2 separate regions of the Homo sapiens genome follow, and region 2 is linked to region 1. The links are contacts of gene promoters, found by promoter capture Hi-C in blood cells and fetal thymus (Javierre and others, 2016). All regions are on one chromosome and are shown on one strand. Each heading gives the region's core, a stretch centred on a gene start or on the middle of the fragment in contact. The rest is flanking DNA. Distances are from core to core; before and after follow the strand shown.

Region 1 (3,920 bases), core at 974-3,473:
TGTGCCCCATGAGAGAAGCTCAGGCCCTGCAGCCCAGTCTGGCTCCTCAGGGCCCAGCCACCTGGTACCAATCAGAGCTCCCTGCCAGATCCAGTGGCAAGCACTGATCACAGCTCTGGCTCACACCACAAGGCCTCCTGGGAGGCCAGAGGCCATGGAGGAGGTGAAAGAGGCAGAGGAGGGAGATGCCTCTGCCAGGCAGCAGTAACCAGGGCTCCCTCTTAGAGTCGCCTAGCAACCCACCACCACAGCCACAGCCCTGGCATGCCCGGGCTCCCCAGGTGCCCAGAGCTGGGCCCAGCTTCTGGGGCCTCATGCCTCCCACACCTACATCCAGACCTGGAGCATGTTGCTAGGGGAGTCAGGACATACCTGATTCAGGGCCCGAGGGAGACCATCTGGGGGCAGAGGGAAAGGACAGTGGGTTATATCTCATGCCTACCCCGTTCTCCTTCAGAACCTGGGCCAGGGAGCCCAGCCCCCAGGGATTCCCCCACCAGGGAGGAGGCTAGAGTAGGGCAAAGTACATCAGCTGTAGCGTTCGAACTGGATTCCCCGTTTCAGCCCCATCACCTGTGAGTGCTATGACCCTGGGGCAAGATGTTTTCAAGCTCCATTCCTCAAATGGCTCCCTGCTCCCTCCCTCACCTCCTTATAGCACTCCACGCAGCAGCCAGAGTGACCCTTCAAATAACCGAGATCACGTCCATTCCTGCCCAGATCCCTCCGACACCCTCCATCTCACTCACAGTGAGGAACAAAGGCCTTGCCATGGCCCACAAGACCCACAGTGACCATGCAGGTACCCCGCTCCATCCCTCCCTCCCATCCTCAAACCTGCCAGGCATGGTCCCGCCTGCCCCCAGATATCCACAGAGATCGCTCCTCTCCTTCCAGTCTTTGTTCAGATGCCATCTCTTGGAACGGGGCCCATCCTGACCTCTCTTAAAAACTGTTCCTCTTCCCTGGAATTTCTTGGCCCCCTGATCCTGCTCTATGTTTTTCTAAAGCATTTTCACATTCTAAATTAATACATTATTTATCCTATCTTTATATTAGAATATAAGTTTCATGAGGGCAGTGATTTTTATCCTTTTTAAAACTGTACCTCATGTGTTTGGTACATACTAGACACTTAAATGTTTGTCAAATGAATGAATGGATGAATGAATAAGAGAAAGTGTGTATGTGCAAGGAGGAGTAATACTGTGTTGTAGGGAGATTAAATAAGACTGGGCAGAGTGGCTGACACATAATAGGGGCTTTTCCAAACTGGGCAGAAAGAAGACACAGGCAGGATGAGAAGCAGGCAGTGGGGTGAGAATGTCCGAAGCAGTCTGACCCACTGAGGGGTGCCAGGGAGAGGAGTAGGGCATCCATTGGGGGTGAAGGAGAGGTCCCACGGTGCACAATGCAGCTGCCTGCCCTCCCCAGCCCCCCACCCTGCTCCCCAGAGAGACTTGGATAACCCAGGGCTGGCACACACCGAGGTCTCCCCTGGGCCAGAAGACGCTCCAGGAGCCCCAGTGGGAACAGGATAACCTCGTCGTTGCTGATGGTGCCTCCCTCATGGACAGGGTCTGATCCATTTGGTGGTGGCAGCTCATCTATCCAGCAGGACACCCTCATCTATTCCCAGGATGCCCTTCACCCACGAGCAGTAATGCATTCACCTGACAGCACAACCCCATTTATCCAGCACACCAGTCCCATTTATCCAGCAAGTACAACCTCATTTGCTAACAGCACTCCATTCACCTGACGGGCCCCCTCATTTATCCAGCAGGACACCCTCATTTATCCTCTGAGTCGGACACTCTCCTTCCTCCTGTGGTGTGGCTGTGTTCTCTGATGGAGCAAAAGCCGACTGATCCAGCAGGACGTCATCTCTACTACAAGTACACTTCATCCCCTGACAGTACAACCTCATTTATCTAATAATGCAGCCTCACCTTGCCCCCAAGTACCACCTCATTCCCTGACAGCACAACCTCGTTGATCTTCCGGTACAACCTCATTTCTTCTCCCAACACAGCTTCATTCTCCAACAGCTCAACCTCATCTAATCTTATGCCTCCAGCCAGGGCCTGCCAGATCTCCGGGAGCCAAAGGAGAGTGTAGAGAAAAGAGAGGTCCCTCATTTGCTGTCCCCCACCCACAAGGGCTGCCTGGTGCTATAACCATCCAATTTCTCCAGGCCCAGAAGGGGCCATGGACTTTGAGTTCTAGGCTGCTTGGCCAAGCCAGAACTCCACTATTGCCCTGCCTCCTGTTCTGTCCCCACCATGGCTACAGAGGGCCCACAGGATGGATTCTGGGACATGGACTCATGGTTGCTGTACCATCTTCTTATTTATTTATAGCCAGGTTCGTTCATTCTTTCTTTTCTTTTCTTTTCCTCTTTCTTTCTTTCTTTCTTTCTTTCTTTCTTTCTTTCTTTCTTGCCAGGGTATTTATTTATTTATTTATTTAGAGCCAGGGCCTCCCTCTGTCACCCAGGCTGGAGTGCAGTGGTGCAATTATAGCTCATGGTACCCTTGACCTCCTGGGCTCAAGTGATCCTCCCGCCCTACCCTCCCGAGTAGCTGGGACCACAGGTGTGCGCTACCACACTCGGCTAATTTTTATATTTTTTGTAGAGAGGAGGATTTCTTATGTTGCCCACGTTGGTTTCAAACTCCTGACCTCAAGTGATCTTCCTGCCTCGGCCTCCCAAAGTGCTGGGATTACAGGTGTGAGCCAACTTGCCTGGCCATCTCTGTGCCATCTTCTTCTGATCCTGGGCAGTGGGACTAGGGGAAGTTACCTTTTCTGGGGCACATTTAGTGGTGTGCTGGCAAATGTTTAACCACCAGCTCTTCTGGAAGTTAAAAAAAAAACCTACCTGATTTGATTTGTAGCTGTTGCTGCTTTCTGTGGTACGGATACTCACATCATAGCCAATTTTAAACTGCCACATGACGTCACCGAGTGCAGAATTGGGAAGAAGTGTGCACGATCAGCCCTCATGAGCCAGTGCAAACCAGCTCTCGCACACCACTGGCATGTGCTTCAAATGCTGAAGCCAGAGAAGGGCACCACCTACTACATGCCTAACATAGGCTAGGCTCCTTTAATCCTGATAACCATCCTGTGAGTAGGTACTGCGATTTTACAAAGGGGGCAAACTGAAGCTCAGGTGGGTTAAATGACTCCTGAGGCCACAAAGCTGGGAAATGACGGAGCCAGGCTTGGGTCTTAGGGCTGCTGGATTCCAAAGCCAGAGCTCTCCCACACCTACCCCTAATGTGGCAGGGGACACTCTGCTGTCCACCCCAGTGGCCATCTCCACCTTGACGCTCAAGCCCAAGCTCTCCTAGCTTTCATCAGAGACAGGGGACAAGGACTGTGCCCCCACCTACCACCAACCCTGTGCTACCTCCTGGCCTCCCTGGTACCTGGGGTCTTTCAGGATCCAAGTGCGGCCCTGCATCTTGTGTCCACCCATCACAGCCCAAGCCCAAGGTCAGGTGTGGATGCCTGTCCAGGTTGCATCACAGTCAAAGGCTCAGCCCAGCCCCTCCCTCAGGAGACTGACCCTGACTACCTGATGGGGAAAATGACCCAGCACCTGTTACTGCAGTGACCTCCTGTGGGGCTGTGGTGAGGGCTCTGATCCCCTCTATGATTCCCATTTCCTCCTTCCCTCCTGGCCTTCCTTCCTGCATACGGAGAGGTCAAAGACAGGAGACTGAATCCCAACTTCATCCATGTGACAGTGGGCCTCCACTATAACGAAGATAACAATCCCAGCATCCACAGGGACATATGGGACCTGGATGAAACCTCACATGTCAAGAATGTCATCCCATCCCTGTCTCAGAGCCCCAGGAGCCTCCCCATCCTACCCCTTGCCCCCACCCAACTCTGGGGCCCCAGCC
Region 2 (3,920 bases), core at 1,009-3,508, 110 kb after region 1:
CCATGTTGGCCAGGCTGGTTTCAAACTCCTAACCTCAGATGATCTGCCCACCTCAGCCTCCCAAAGTGCTGGGATTACAGGCATGAGCCACCACGCCCAGCCAAGAAATGTCATTTTTAACCCAAGTAGGCATGTGCCTAGCTGAAAGTTAGAGATTCTATTACTAAGGAAAAAGTGGAATAGACACTGGGAGACAACTGGCATTCTATAGAATGCCAAGCAGTTACGAAACACAGAGTAGAGACTGACAGACTGTTATGTAGGAGTTCCAGAACAGAGGGAGTGCAGGAGAAGCAAGATTACAGAAATAAGGACTGAGAATTGTCCAGAATGAGAGAAAGACATTGCTTAGATTCAAAATGCGCACTCAGTGCTGAACAGAACAAATAAATTTACACCTAGACCCAGTGTAGTGAGACGATAGCACATCAAGAATAAAGAGAAAACATCAAGGCTATTGCAGTAAAAAAAGGCATTACATGTAGAGGAAAAGTAATTACTCATTTATCAACCAGCAAATATGTATTAAGTGCTTTCTTTGAGTCAGGTCTGTTCTAGGGATGGCCATCCAGTCCTGACCTAGACAAATAAGTTTAAATGTCTATCATTTATTATTAAATAGAGATTGAGGCCCTTAGAGAAAAAATACAGCAGAGCAAGGAATAAAAGTGATGGAGGGTGGGAGTGGGTAGGATGTCTTAGGGAAGATGCTCAGGGGAGGCCTCTCTGTAACATTTGAGCTGAGACCTGAATGAAGTGACGCAGCAAGTTATGCACATTTTTGGGGAAGAGCATCCCAAACAGAGGAAAGCAAGTGCCAAGGCCCCGAGGTGGAAATGTACTTGTTATGTTCAAGAAACAGCAAGAAGGCCAGTGATCCAGCAGAGTGAACAGGGGTAGCAGAATAAGCGGGTTGTCTGGAGAAGGCGTCTGAGGCCAGATCTTATGTGTGGAGCCTTGGTGCAGCAGTGCGTTGGTGTCAACTCAGACTGGCTCTGTCTCGATTCTTTACATCCCTTCTCAACTCTGAGCTCAGTGATGTTACCTTGGAAGCTTGAAATTGGCCATGGAGGGAGAATATGCACCACAATTAGCAAATGCTACATATCAGGGCTCTCTGCCTCTGAGAACTGGTTGTTACCAGCACAGCACCGCTCATAGCTGTGGTGAGAAATTCAGACATTGTTCAAATTGGAATCAGAAGCATTGGAGTGTTTTGAACGGCAAAAAGGCAGAATACTGCCACTTGGTTTCCTTCTCACAAGATCACTGTAGAGAACAGAGCCTAGGGTGCAAGAATGGAAGCAGGGAAATGGATTAGGAGGTTGTTGGAGTGGACTGGGTGAAAAAGGAATGGGGACAGTCTAGGAAGGCCATGAGGAGGAGGCAGTTTTAATCTGGTCTTCTATTTTCTGGTACGATCTCCCTTACATCCTGTTTAGCCTCTGTTGATAGACTGATTCCACTGGCTGGGAGGAGCATATTTTCCTGGAAAGAGCATGGGATTTAGAATCAGTGGGCCTGGATCTACTTCTCAATAGTATCCCTTGAGGAAATTATTTAACATCTTTTGAGTCACAGTGTCCTGTGTGTAAAACTGAATACCTGAAAAGGTGGCTGTGAAGACTAAATGAGATAAGGAGTGTAAAATTCCCATTTATCCTTTGGTGGGGCAGAGCGCCCTCATCCTCAGCCCACCAGGGTCCCTCATGTAGACTTCATGCCTAGAAGCAAAAAGAATGAAACTGCCAGGATCAGATTCCCCGGGGCTGGTCGCCGGTCTCTGCCTGTTCCCAGGTGGGCCACCAGCGCCACCTCGTGTCCAGTCTGGGTTCTTGCAGGCCAGCCTTTCCCTGGATGATTTCTTGATCCTGAATCACCTCCATTGCCAGATGGAGCCAACAGTGCATGAAGTGTCCTAACATTCATCGTCTGACCTGCCAACAAAGCATGCTCTCTGCTCTCCTCTGATCCTCCTCTGCATGTCAGTCTCACCTCCACATCCAGATTGTAGAGGGCACACGGCCTGTGTCTTCAGCGTCCATTCCTTTTACTTGAGTAATTACTTTGTGCCACTCATTCTGACATAATCCTTAAGGCAATTATATCCTTATTCCTTTTCTGGAGAAACTGAGGCCAAGACATAGAAAGTGACTTGCTTAAGGTCACTGGGCAAGCAATTGAGGTAAGATTTGATTCCAGGACTTCTCAATGTAAACCCAAGGTTTTTTTCCACAAAAACATCCAGCACAATGTGGGTACCCAGAAGATGCTCAGTGGATCATTTCATTTTTTAGGCTTTTTAAAAGAAGTGAGCAAAAATAACTGAACAGGAGCCAGGGGACCCACCCTCAGGACTCAGATTCAAGCTCTGTCTTTTACAACTTGCTGAATAACCTTGGCTGGATCTGGGTCACTCTGTGGCCTTCAGTACCGCATGAGGAAAGGAAAGGGATTAGACTAGGTGATCCCAAAGTTTCCCTCAGGTCCTGATGTTCAACAATTGCAAAGTTGAGGAGAGGGCTCTAGAAAGGGGTTAAGATTGTGGGCTCTGAGGCCACTGCTTGGGTGAGTCCAGGCTTCACAATAGCTATGAGGCCTTCAGCAAGTTATTTATCTCAGCCTCCGTTTCCTTGTCTGGAAAATGAGGATGATGAGAGTAATCATCTGTACCTCATAGTGTTGCTCAGTTATCTACTAGACCCTCTTAAAACTGTGCTTGGTACATGGTAGGTAATACATTTGTGTTCATTTTTCAAAAATATTGATTCTGGCTGGGCGTGGTGGCTCACTCCTGTAATCCCAGCACTTTGGGAGGCCAAAGAGGACAGATAACTTGAGGTCAAGAGTTCAAGACCAGCCTGATCAATATGGTGAAACCCCGCCCCTACTAAAAATACAAAAATTAACTGGGTGTGGTGGCACGCACCTGTGGTCCCAGCTACTTGGGAGGCTGAGGCATGAGCTCACTTGAACCCAGGAGGCGGAGGTTGCACTGAGCTGAGATCACACCACTGCACTCCAGCCTGGGTGACAGAGTGAGACTCTGTCTCAAAAAATAAATAAACAAATAAATAAATAAAAATAAAAATTCTACCTGCTACCTAATTCTATTTGTTTCAGGTAACATAAAAGTCTTGTGCATTACAAGGTTGGCCACTGGTTAATTCCTGCAAGCTCCTGGACAGTCATGCATCTAGCCACAGATAAGGTCATGTGTTTGATTCCACATAGTATCATCTGGATTACAACATAAATAAAACCTGAAAGTCTTAAGCCAAAATGAGGATCAAAGACCATTGTGTTCTCCTAAATTCCATCATTCAAGATATCCTGGAAATTTCTAAGACTTGGATCCTAAACCAGGCCACTCTGAGCCTCAGTTTTCTCACTTGCAAAACTGGGAATTGGACTGGCTATTTATGAAAGCTGCTATTATGGGCCCGGCACTGTGATAAGCTTTCACACAGCGAAATCAGAGTATAGTGTGCACTGACAAAGGGACAAGGGACCCCTGCCCTCTGATTTGGGTCACTGTACTTCAGGAACTGAGGTTGGGCAGTGGAATGGTGCATCCTCTCTATCCTGTTCCTTGGGATATCTTCCTAAACGGGTAAGTGGGGAGCCTGGAGACCTTGCTAGGTGATGGGACAAATCCCTTCTCCTCTGAGAATCACAGGCCTCTAGGGCAGCCCAGCCCAGCCCAGCCCAGCAGGACTTTCTAGGGTGATGGAGGTATTCAATATCTGTGCTGTCCAATATTGCAGCCACTAGTCACCAGTAGCTTCTGAGCACTGGAAACATGGCTAGTGCAATTGAGGAACAGAATTTTAAATGTATTTACTTTTAGTTAATTTAAATTTACATAGACCGTTGTGGCTACTGGCTATTCTATCGGATAGAGCAGCTCTGAGATATTT

The links. Contacts are between HindIII fragments. The CHiCAGO score rates a contact against its expected background, and 5 or more counts as called.
Region 2: a contact is called between a fragment that was not itself captured here and the fragment with the promoter of FOXO6-AS1 in region 1, in 1 of 17 cell types (monocytes). The highest score is 6.6, in monocytes.

What each region holds. Positions count from the first base shown.
Region 1 is chr1:41,373,972-41,377,891 of GRCh38, reverse strand. It overlaps FOXO6-AS1 (FOXO6 antisense RNA 1), which reads left to right and starts at 2,223. Exons shown (of 2, transcript NR_135817.1): 1 at 2,223-2,367; 2 at 2,640-2,888. The region is part of intron 1 of FOXO6 (forkhead box O6); the gene reads right to left. The HindIII fragment of the contact is 10,680 bases long and covers 1-3,920 here.
Region 2 is chr1:41,266,248-41,270,167 of GRCh38, reverse strand. No RefSeq gene overlaps it. Among named protein-coding and RNA genes, the nearest start is that of SCMH1-DT, 26 kb to the right of the region's middle. RefSeq lists an enhancer at 1,657-1,951. The HindIII fragment of the contact is 2,406 bases long and covers 1,056-3,461 here.